Regions from separate parts of the Homo sapiens genome. Here all the other regions are linked to region 2. The links are contacts of gene promoters, found by promoter capture Hi-C in human tissues and cell types (Jung and others, 2019). All regions are on one chromosome and are shown on one strand. The core of a region is centred on a gene start or on the middle of the fragment in contact, and the rest is flanking DNA. Distances in the headings are between cores, read along the strand shown. Region 1 overlaps CACNA2D1 (calcium voltage-gated channel auxiliary subunit alpha2delta 1). Region 2 holds the start of CACNA2D1 (calcium voltage-gated channel auxiliary subunit alpha2delta 1). Region 3 overlaps CACNA2D1 (calcium voltage-gated channel auxiliary subunit alpha2delta 1). Region 4 overlaps CACNA2D1 (calcium voltage-gated channel auxiliary subunit alpha2delta 1).

What was found. The method cuts DNA at HindIII sites, captures the fragments that hold promoters and counts their contacts. A contact is called where the count stands out against the background at its distance.
Region 1: a fragment that was not itself captured here is called in contact with the fragment with the promoter of CACNA2D1 in region 2 in 2 of the 25 tissues and cell types used here (dorsolateral prefrontal cortex and hippocampus).
Region 3: a contact is called between a fragment that was not itself captured here and the fragment with the promoter of CACNA2D1 in region 2, in 2 of the 25 tissues and cell types used here (heart left ventricle and hippocampus).
Region 4: a fragment that was not itself captured here is called in contact with the fragment with the promoter of CACNA2D1 in region 2 in 1 of the 25 tissues and cell types used here (hippocampus).

The regions. Positions count from the first base shown.
Region 1 is chr7:82,129,849-82,132,667 of GRCh38, forward strand. All of the region lies in intron 5 of CACNA2D1 (calcium voltage-gated channel auxiliary subunit alpha2delta 1), which reads right to left. Among named protein-coding and RNA genes, the nearest start is that of CACNA2D1-AS1, 120 kb to the left of the region's middle. The HindIII fragment of the contact is 9,170 bases long and covers 1-2,819 here.
Region 2 is chr7:82,442,468-82,445,358 of GRCh38, forward strand. CACNA2D1 (calcium voltage-gated channel auxiliary subunit alpha2delta 1) reads right to left here and starts at 1,310. Exons shown (of 39, transcript NM_000722.4): 1 at 898-1,310. The coding sequence starts at 992. RefSeq lists an enhancer at 1-315. The HindIII fragment of the contact is 9,545 bases long and covers 1-2,891 here.
Region 3 is chr7:82,147,938-82,150,686 of GRCh38, forward strand. All of the region lies in intron 4 of CACNA2D1 (calcium voltage-gated channel auxiliary subunit alpha2delta 1), which reads right to left. Among named protein-coding and RNA genes, the nearest start is that of CACNA2D1-AS1, 140 kb to the left of the region's middle. The HindIII fragment of the contact is 3,987 bases long and covers 1-2,749 here.
Region 4 is chr7:82,025,600-82,028,496 of GRCh38, forward strand. The region is part of intron 12 of CACNA2D1 (calcium voltage-gated channel auxiliary subunit alpha2delta 1); the gene reads right to left. CACNA2D1-AS1 (CACNA2D1 antisense RNA 1) reads left to right here. Exons shown (of 4, transcript NR_110077.1): 4 at 2,056-2,897. Among named protein-coding and RNA genes, the nearest start is that of CACNA2D1-AS1, 18 kb to the left of the region's middle. The HindIII fragment of the contact is 4,274 bases long and covers 1-2,897 here.

The DNA.
Region 1 (2,819 bases), core at 239-2,738, 310 kb before region 2:
CATATTTGTAACTACAGAAGTGCTAATGATATAAAACATTTGGTCCTGCCACTGGTCAACAATAGGGCAAGCGTTTTCTTCAAGGTATGTATTTCATTGCCAATCCTCTAGATTATAGAGACCTACACAAGTCTGGACTAAGGTTGGGATAGTAGGGAAAGGATCTCTCTAAAAATTAAAGTATGGGGAAGTAATTCTAGAATATAACTATGACGTGTTCTTAAACTATACTTCAGAACATTCCTTTTACAGTTGTGTGAAATGAAGCTTTAATATGAACTTAGATTTATTGGGAAAGAAAGTTTGAGTGATTACAATGTGTACTCGATATTGTAAGAGTTACATCAGCTGCTATAAGTGCATAAGAGCTGCTCTCTGGGAACTTATACTCTTGAGGGACCCTAAGATAATAATTCACAAAGATTGGCTGTGCCTTCAAGAAGGAGAAACTTTCATTTCACTGCCAAACATTATATGTTCCGCTTAGGGAAGTTACTGGTAAAGTTTCTGCACGGTATTAAACATCAAAAAAAGAGTCAGTAATAAGTGACAAAGATCTTGACAATGGAAAAAGATATATGAATATAATGTTTATAAATTTATATAATAATGTATCATAATTAAATGCATTTAAAATTTATAATCATAAAATGAGATAATTTCAATAGCTCTTAAGAACATATTTGAGACCAATGTCTAAACTTAGATGATTGTATTAGAGCAGTGAAAGGAAATGATTGATATGAGTACTAGGAAATCCTGGAAATGATCACTAATCTACTAGTCTTAGGAGTTGGAAAACAAATCATCTCCAGCAGAACTGGTGAAAAAGTTAAAATAACCAGAGCCTCAGGATTTATAATCTTTTAGTTATACCCAGGAGGTATAATATTTAAAATAGAAACTTTATTTAGTGCTTGTTTTTTTTGTTGTTGTTTTTGTCTTTTTTTTTTTTTTTTTTTTTTTGAGACAGAGTCTCGCTCTGTTGCCCAGGCTGGAGTGCAGTGGCACAATCTCGGCTCACTGCAAGCTCCACCTCCCGGGTTCACGCTACTCTCCTGCCTCAGCCTCCCAAGTAGCTGAGACTACAGGCGCCCGCCATCATGCCTGGCTAAATTTTAAAAAAATATTTTTTAGTAGAGACAGGGTTTCACTGTGTTAGCCAGGATGGTCTCGATCTCTTGACCTCGTGATCTGCCTGCCTCAGCCTCCCAAAGTGCTGGGATTACAGGCATGAGCCACCGCGCCGGCCAGCTCTTATAAACTAAATTTGTCCTAAGGTTACATTTGTATTTTGAATTTCTTTACAGTAAACTGCAGCCTAACTTAGTATGTTAACAAACTGCAACCTACTTTAAAAGTATATTCTTGTAACTAATAACTGAGTCTCAGCTAATCATAGCAGCTGAGTTTCAGCCAATCACAGGCTGCCCACTGATCAGATTATGTCCACAGAAGGCAAATGCTACATATGCCCAAGTAAGGTAAATGCCCAGCTATCACCATGCCCAAGTAAGGTAAATGTCCAGCTATAACCAATCAAGCTGTTTCTACACATCACTTCCTTTGTCTGTCTATAAATACTGCCTGGCCATGTTGCTGGGTGGGGCTCTGTCCTAATTTTGAGTACTGCCTGATTCATGAATCATTCTTTATACAAATAAACTCGGGTAAATTTAATTTATCCATAATTTCTTTCAACAGCCCTCGGATATTAATCCCCATTGAAACATACTGAGGACTAAATTTATTAATAATGTTATCCCAGCAGTTAGTATGCCAATTAGCCCCACTGTTTTATTAGTTGATGTAGACGTATGAGATTGTAAAGTTACATTTTATAATCTCAAATGACAAATTTTTAATGAAGAATATGACATTGTAGAATTTGAACAATAAAAATACATAGCTAAACTAGCATGTATAAAAGTGAGAGCAAAGAACAGTGATAGTAGCCAAATTCAAACAAAAACAATGTGATGATATGATTTGTGAACACCTGATATATAAAATACCAGCCAACGCATATATAAAGTTGTAAACAAAAGATCCAATTAAATCCACCCTGTACTGCAAAACTTTTGGTGAGGGTGAGTAAATTTCATCATCCATAGGAGTCTAACTTCATGAGATAAGTAACAATCTTTTTTTAAAAAAAATGTAAATACTGAAACTTGTTAACTAGAATATCAAAGTACAACATGTATTTACAGTTCTTGACTTTCACTGTAATATAGTAAATATTTCTATTGCAGAAAACAATTTGATCATTAGTTATCAAAATGCATTAGGAGATATTAGAAAAAACTCAGTACAGCACCCAATTTTATATTCATTTTACTATAGAAAAATTATCTCCCCCAAAGGGTTTGATTATATTTAAAAGATAATAGTCACTCAGATGAATGAGTAGAGTGTTTGCACTAACTTTAATATGTCAAGAAGAACAAATTGAAGATATGTGCAGAAACTGCTAATTAATGATCTCTCAATTACTATCCCTTCTCTCTTTAGTAATGTAACTCTACATGTTAGTTGGGTATGTACACATGGGTCAAGGGTTGGGAGGAAAAGTACTCCATATCCTCTTGCAACAAGGCAAGGCTGGTCACTAAGTTGTGGACAATGGGCACACATAGAAGTGATGTATGCAAACTCTGAGACATGCCCCTAAAGGCAAAGGGCATGTCTCCCATTGTCACTTGCCTCTCTCCTCTAATCTAGAACGCAAAAAGAATCATGGATATTGGAACACCGATCTTGGAGCACAACATGGAAGAGCTACACTGAGGAAAGCAGAGAATGGGGAGAAGAACCTT
Region 2 (2,891 bases), core at 60-2,559:
TATATATTTATATGTGCCATTGAGTTTGATTCTATTTTGCTAAGAAAGGAGAGAATTATTATTTTTCATTCCCTTCCTGTGGTGTGACTATAGCTACCTATAAGCCCTCTATTTCCAGAACAGCAGCGAGGTTTTTAAAAGTTATTTTAGAAATGGTAAAAATAAAAGAAAATTTGTAGGAGACTGGAAATAGTCCCTCCTTCAAAGAATAGGCTCTATTCATTTGAAGAACAGGGACCGCGTGTCTGCCGACACTTAGATGTTTCAAATAATGGGTTGGGGAGGTTGGATCGCGTGGTCCCAGTACCTGCGAGCCCCCTGCGTGGACAGCACGCTCGGCCGCGGGGAGCCAGCACGCGTCTAATCGGAAGGCTGTCAAGTGCATCCAGTAACGTGGGATAAAACGAGTTTGGGCACTACAGCAATTAAAGAGCATCTCCGAGGCCAAGTGCGGGGGAAGTCCACGCTACCTCGGCAAGCCTGAAATTACCTGTTTGTAAATTACCCAACCAAAACATAACTTTTTATTGAACTGGGTTGAATCAGAGCGGGTGAGCTGGCTGGAAACTTTTTTCCCCAGTACGGCTGCACTCTGAAGTCTAGAGAATCCCGTTAGAGACGGGCTGAGACGCCGCGAGTCGTCGGCGGGCGCTTCCCGGGACAGTCGGCCCCCAGTGCCCGGCCCCGTGGAGGCGCCCGAGACGCCGGTTCGGGACGCATTCCAGCGGCGAGCGGCGCGCACCGCCTGCCCGGCGTCTCCGCATCCGAGCCTGGCTCCCCGGCCGCTCGCTCCCCACCCCCACGGGCGGAAAAGCCCCGCGACTCGGGAACCGACCCCCACCCCCAACTCCCGCGGCGCCCCTCGGCCGGCGCTCCCTGCCCGGCCCGCCGACTTACGTGACGGCCGAAGGGAACGGCTCCTCCGACGAGGGGCCGATGAGCAAAGATTGGAAAAGTGTCAGAGTCAAGGCCAGCAGGCAGCCAGCAGCCATCTTCGCGATCGAAGATCAATGCCCCCTCCCTGCCCAAGCGGGGGAAGGAGCGGCGCTGGAAACCGCGGGCGGAGGAAGAGCAGCACACGCCGCCGGGACCGCGGGCGTCTGGAGGGCTGGCTGCGCCCGGGGCCCGAGGCGCGGAGCCGCGCGGGGGACGGCAAGGGCGGGAGCGGACGCCGAGGAAGGGGCGGTGGCGGGCGGACCCACTAGCGTGCGTCGGCTGCTCCGCGCCGCGGCCGCCTTGCCTCCGCCGCCATCAAGGGCGACTTTGGAAACAGACCTCGGCGAGCCCGCCGGCGCTCGCGCGCTCTCGCTCTCCCTCTCGGTTTCCTCCCTGATTTATTCCCCCGATTGCCGAGGCGAAGGCGGAGGCGGGGGCGGGGGCGGAGGAGGGGTGACGGCGCTGGAGGGTGGGGGTGGCTGCAGGAATCGGGGAATGGCAGGCAGAGAGACTTGTGGAAGCGAGAGGCTCCGTCTGGCTTCTTAGGCAAGTCAGAGGGAGGCGGCTGGGGGTGGGCAGCGGGAGGGCTGGGCGTCAGAGCAGTCGGGCGGAGACGGGCCGGGAGCAGCCCTCCATACAAGGCAGCCAGGAACTCCCAAAGTCGGCGCCGGCTCGCTCCCGCCGCCCGGCGTGCGCAGGCGGAGCGGACCAGCCCCGCGGGGCTCCCGGGGGACGGCCAGCCGCCCAGCGGGCATCCACAGGCTGCAGAGGCTCCAACCCAGGACTTGGCTCGCGTCTTCGGGGGTTATTTTTGCACATGCAGGCAGCGTTCCCCCCCAGCCCTACTCCCAGGCGCAGAATCCAGTGCCTGCCTGGGAATCGTGAAGTGATTTGACAACAAATGTAGGAGGGGTTTGTATTGCATTTTAAAGCACCACTGTTGACTCTCTACCAGGTGGCACTATATGCCCGCGTGTGCCATAGGTTAGAGCCTCTGCCGGGGCTGGGTGCCCTTTGTGCCAGCGGTCCCACGCCCAGGTACTGCTCGGCTCACCTGGCGAGGACAGAGCCTCAGGGACCGGGCTGTGGACGGACAGAGAAGTACTGACGCTGTAAAATCTTCCCAGCCCTGTGGTTCCATTGGACAGAGGGGTGGAGGGACGAATTCTGCATCTAGGGAGGACAGTAGTAAGAGAAGCGCTTTGCAGCATCCCAGTTGGGACTACCTCCAAAAGGGTCCTAACGCCCTGCTCTGGCCACTGGCCTGCCCTGCCTGACAAGGTTACCGCAGGGTGAGCTCACTTTTGTCAATGCGAAGGCATGAAAAGGGTAAGCAGCAGGAACAGGTGGCACTCTGAGAAATGCGCCTGAAATGTAGAGGAGGAATTAAGGGAGGGGGAGAGAGCTAGGGAGTAGCAATGCCGGACTGGTTTTATCTCCAGACTCAGAGGAAGCAGTGGCGGGCTTTCTCCTTGAAAAGACAGGGTCTGCGACTAGGCCTCTCCCGCCCAACACAGGCCTCCTACAAGAGGGCCCTGGTGGGCCAAAGATAGAAATATATTCTTGCACACCTTAAATTCTTAAGCTCCCTCTAGTAGTGTATGAGAATACTTTTGACATGACGTGCAGAGAATACAATTTGTGATGACTATCCTGCATATGCAAAAATTCTGTAAGTATCGGGGTGGCTGTCAGATTTTTAATTAGCCCGTTCTTATTTTTAGGAGATGCTTCTGAAAGAAAAAGACCCTTATTAATTCGAAATGAATTTTCCAGCTCTCTGAAGGCAATCTCCCAAAACAAAGACTAATAATAATACTACTACTATTAATTACTGGCCAAATTTTAAGAGCGTGTGTGATTTTATGATGCTTAGCCTGGTGAATTTATTTTTCCTTCCCACTTATTTCTCCTTTTTTTAATGCCTTATTTGTTTTCTTTATGTTCTTCGCATC
Region 3 (2,749 bases), core at 61-2,560, 290 kb before region 2:
AAACATTCACATATATACAGTACTCCTTGCTCATCCCCAGGAGAAACATCCAAGACGCCCCAGTAAAGGCCTGACACTGCAGATACAGATAATATTAATATGTATACAAACTTATAAGGTTTAATTTATATATTAGGCACAGTAAGAGATTAACAACAATAATCAAATAGAATAATTAACTTTATGCTGGCATCACTATTCTGTGAAAGTGGTAACAGCTAAAACAAATATATCACTGTTCAGCTCGGATAGTGCATTATGTTCCTATAAGGCAATAGTCTTAAAAGCAAGGCTTGTTAAAGTAGAAAGGAGATTTGTAAGTTTCAAAAACAGATGATTTTACATATAAGACAAAACTAAGAAGTCTAAATGATGAGGCATAGTTAGAAAAAAAAAAAAAAGTCAAGGGATGTTCCTCCCTATTAGAAAAAGGAATATTGAGAATTTCCTAAATTGAAAGAGCAAAAGAAAAGCTGAAGGAGAGAGCTAAAAGTGACATGTATATGGACTGGCTCCAGTTATAGGTAGGAAACAGTGGGAGAGCAAAGGAGGTGTGTTTGGGAGAAATTTGCCACATTTTCTACTAGGAGTCTGGAATAAAGACTTTTCATTATTAAGTAAAATAAAGGTGCATCCAGGAAGCTTTCTTTGCCAGAGAAAACTCCCCAGCTTCCCTGCTTCATGTCAAAATTGGACAACCTTGTTTTTTGTTTTTTTGGAGATGGAGTTTTGCTATTGTCGACCAGCTGGAGTGCAGTGGCACAATCTCGGCTCAGTGCAACCTCCGCCTCCCAGGTTCAAGTGATTCTCCTGCCTCAGCCTCCCGAGTAGCTGGGATTGCAGGTGCCTGCTACCATGCCCAGCGAATTTTTTATTTTTAAAAGAGGCAGGGTTTCACCATGTTGGCCAGGCTGGTCTCAAACTCCTGACCTCAGGGGATCCACTCACCTCAGCCTCCCAAAATGTTGGGATTACAGGCGTGAGCCACTACACCCGGCTGGACACCCTTCTTAATGCCTCTCATAGAATCTTCTTGTATTTCCCCACTCTATAAATCAGAGAGAAGAGTCACTACACATCACTGGTTTGTTGTATTGATGAAATGGGCAAGTATCTGGGTCAAGGATCGGCTGCATTCCCTGCCTCAGTCTGTGTACTCAGCACAGCATAGTGTGATCACCTGCCTGAGCCCTGTGAGAGACTACACCTTAGCCATGTTTGAGCTCAATGCCTGGCCCATCACAGCTTAGATGTCATTAACTACTAAACAAGCCAGCCTCCCTCATAAGGTTGTTGAATCATCTGATGAATTATCTTAATATTCCACAGACAAGATGTTCACTGACTGGTTTTTAACACTGTCCTAGGTTTGGTTACCTAGAAATAGACACTGAGACTAGGATTTGAGCATCATTTATTTGGGAGGTGATCCCAGGAGACACCAATAGGAGAGTAGAGAAGTGAGACACCAAGGCACACAAGCTGTGGTCAAGAGCAGGTAGACAACTGGGGCTGTTTCCCTAGGAACCCTGGGGAGGCTATATAGAATTTCACTCAAAACGGTCACATCCAAAGAATGAGGAGGCTCAGGTAGTATCCACCCATACCAACTGTCACTCGGAGTGTTCACTCCTGCTCATTCTGGCCACCTGAGAAAGCCCTCAAGGCCAAGATGTGCAGATGCTTAGAGGAGGAAGCTATAAGAGTATGTGCTTGGCCGGGTGCTCACACCTGTAATCCCAGCACTTTGGGAGGCCAAGGCAGGCGGATCACAAGGTCAGGAGATCGAGACCACCCTGGCTAATACGGTAAAACCCTGTCTCTACTAAAAATACAAAAAAAAAACAAACAAACAACAAAAAAAAAAACATTAGCTGGGTGTGGTGGTAGGCGCCTGTAGTCCCAGCTACTCAGGAAGCTGAGGCAGGAGAATGGCGTGAACCCGGGAGGCGGAGCTTGCAGTCAGCCGAGATCGCGCCACTGCACTCCAGCCTGGGCTACAGAGCAAGAGTATGTGCGTGTCTCTGTGTGTGTACATGTGCGTGTGTGTGTGTGCATGTGTGTGTGCATGCACTGAGGAGATGTGGGCAGGGAACCAACAGCATCTACTATAGGCATGCAGTGAGTGTTTTAAAATGCTTACTGAGCACATGGCTAAATGCTTAAACGGCTTTAAGCATTGACTAGTTAGTAATGTGGCTTCCCGAGGCTTTGGTTCCTCCCCTGTGACATAAACATTCAGTTGACAAATACGGTCTCTAGAATCCTTCCACCTTTAAGGTTTGGTGTTTCCACTAACTGCTTTGCTTTAGATCAAATTAAAAAAAAAAAACAAAAACAACAACAAAAAAAAACACCCTAGTAGCTGGGTTCATCTACTTTTTTTTTCCCCCCAGTAAGCCATTATTTTGCTTCTCATGTGAGCACCCAACAGAACTTAAAGAGCCATCTCTCTTATTCTGAAAACAAAGCAAAGCTTTCCCTTAAAAAAAAAAAAAAAAATTGAAATCTCTAGTACATATTTTTGTAGAAGCATGTAAAACTGTAAAAAAGAAAAACCTTTGCATCATTTTTTTTCTATCTTGAAAGGTCAAGTTAAGGTGTATTCATTTATTCCTGAAAAGTAATGACTATGTTCCAAGGATAGATGTTTGCAATAGAAACATCCACAAACTAACCTAAATCAACCCCTTTGCACCTACCAAATACAAGCTGGCAATTTCCCCATTATGATATAAATTACCTGCTA
Region 4 (2,897 bases), core at 179-2,678, 420 kb before region 2:
AGACTATTTATTTCTGCTACTAATTTCTAGTTTCACTCCACTGTGGTCAGTAAGGAGACTGGGTATGATTTCAATCTGAATTTGTTAAGAATTTGTTGTGACCTAACGTATGATCTATCCTGAAGAATGTTCCATATGCACTTGAGAAAAATGTGTATTATTTCTATTGGGTCAAATGTTCTCTATCTGTTTAAGTCTATTTGGTTATAGTGTTGTTCAAGTCCTCTGTTTCCAGATTGATCATCTGTCTGGCTGTTCTATCCATCACTGAAAGTGAGGTATTCAAGCTTTCTAGTATTATTGTATTGCTGCCTATTTGCCCCTTCAGTGCTGTCCATGTTTGCTTTATATATTTAGATGTTCTGATGTTGGGTGCATACATCTTTGTTATATATTATTGCTGGATTGATGCTTTTATTATATAACATCCTTCTTTGTCTCGTGTCAGTTTTTTTTTTTTTTTTACTTAAAGCCTGTTTTGTCTGATATAAATGTAGCTATCCATACTTTCTTTTGGTTATCATTTGCATGGAATAACTTTTTTCATCCCTTCACTTTTAGCCTATGTGTGTCCTTAAATCTAAAGTGAACTTCTGATAGGCAGCATATAGTGTGGTTTTGTTTTTTATCCATTCAGCCACTCTGTGTCTTTTGACTGGGGAGTTTAATTCATTTACATTTAAAATTATTATTGATAAGACAAAATTTATTAATGTCATTTTGTTATTTTCTGTCTTATTTTTCTTTTGTATTTTCTTTCTTCCTTTATGTTTGTCATTTTGATATTTTAAAGTTACATGTGAACTTATTTAAAAAAAGTTTTTTTAAAAAGTTGCATTCAAACATAGAATTTTTAAGAGTACTGAGCATTTATATTTTACTAAATCTATCGAATTTCATTTTTACACATTGGCCATTTGAAAGATAGTATTTCTGTGGAAAGTGAAATGCTGAGTTGATAAACGTATTATGTAACATTAATTTTGTGGCTCTGGAATTAGTACTGCATGCACAACTTTAGATAACAATAAACAATTATCTTTGTTATTAATATCTGTGGGCTGCAGATCGCTCACACAGGGTGGGTGTGTGTACAGCAGGCAATAAAGTTAGAACATGTTCCTCAATTCATCCACACACATTTGAAGCCATATTTGAAGATGGTGAAAAATATATAATGTACATATGTACACTATTTTATGTATATAAGCACTCTACACATACACATATGTCCTGGGCATAAACAATTACTACACAAATGCTGTTGTTTTAATAAAATACAGGTATACTCAAAAGTATAACTGAATTAAAGGTGGTTGTCTGCTATCATTTATACTCATTATTAGTGGACACAGAACATGCAAATACTTGTTTTCATTTATTTGTGGGATCTAAAGATCAAAGTAATTGAACTTCAGGAGATAGAGAAGAGAATAGTGGTTATCAGAGGCTGAGAAGGGTATGCTGGGGGTTTGTAGGGAGGTGGAGATGATTAATGGGTACAAAAAAATAGAATGAAAAAGACCTAGTTCTTGACAGCACAAGAGGGATATAGTAAATAATAATGGTACATTTAAAAATAATGAAAATGTATAATTGGGTTCTTTGTAATGCAAAGGATAAATGCTTAAGGGGATGGGTACTCAATTTTCCATGATGTAATGTGATTGCATGCCTGTACCTAAATATCTCAAATTCCAAGATGAACGTTTTATTCATTTAACATGGCCTTCTCACATTAGAAAATGTGGGATGTCATTTAACTTCACAGTGCATATGAAATGTGGGACAGCAATGTTTCCAGAAATTAATACCTACTTGTCAAATTCAGAAACGTGTTCCATCTCTCTCTCAATCCCTCCTCTTTTCAAGATCTCTATCAATTAGCCTTTCTCAGTTTTGTATCTATAAGCTTTCCTTGTCTGAGTATCCTTTCATTCATCTTTAGCCTATAATAATGTATAAGGTCTTCTATTGTAAAATAATATGCATATAATCATATGTGTGTACAGGTATATCTCATTTTATCATGGTTCTTTGTTGCATTTTTTACAGATTGGAGGTTTGTGGCAACCCTGTATCAAGTAAGTCCACTGTTGCCATTTTTCCAACAGCACACGCTAACTTCATGTCTCTGTCACAGTTTAGTAATTCTTAGAATAGTTTAATCTTTTTCATTATTATTACATCTGTTATAGTGATCATTATATCTGATACAGTGAATATAGTGATATCATACTGTTATATTCAGTGGTCCCTGAAGCTGGCAGAGGTTGGCTCATGAGGTGTAAGGAAAAAAGGCATCTCTATAACATAAAAGTGCAAGGTGAAGCAGCAAGTGCTGATGTAGAAGCTGCAGCAAGTTATCCAGAAGATGTAGCTAAGATCACTGGTGAAGGCCACTATAATAAACAACAGATTTTCAATGTAGAGAAAACAGCCTTGTATTTGAAGACAATTTTATCTAGGACTTTCATAGCTAAAAAGGAGAAGTTATTGCCTGCTTCAAAGCTTCAAAGGACAGGCTGACTTTCTTCTTAGTAGCTAATGCACTTGGTGACTTTAAGTGGAAGCCAGTGCTCTTTTACCATTCCAAAAATCTCAGGGTCCTTAAGAATTATGCTAAATCTACTCTGCTTATGCTCTGCAAATGAACCAACAAAGCCTGGATGACAGCACATCTGTTTACAGCATGGTTTACTGAATATTTTGAGCCCACTATTGAAACATATGTTAAAAAAAAATTATTGCTCACTGACAATGTAGGTAGTCGCCCAAGAGCTCTGATGGAGATTTACAAGGAGATTAATGTGTTTTCATGCCTGCTAACACAACTTGCATTTTGTAGCACATGGATCAAGAACTAATTGTGACTTTCAAGTCTTATTAATTATTTA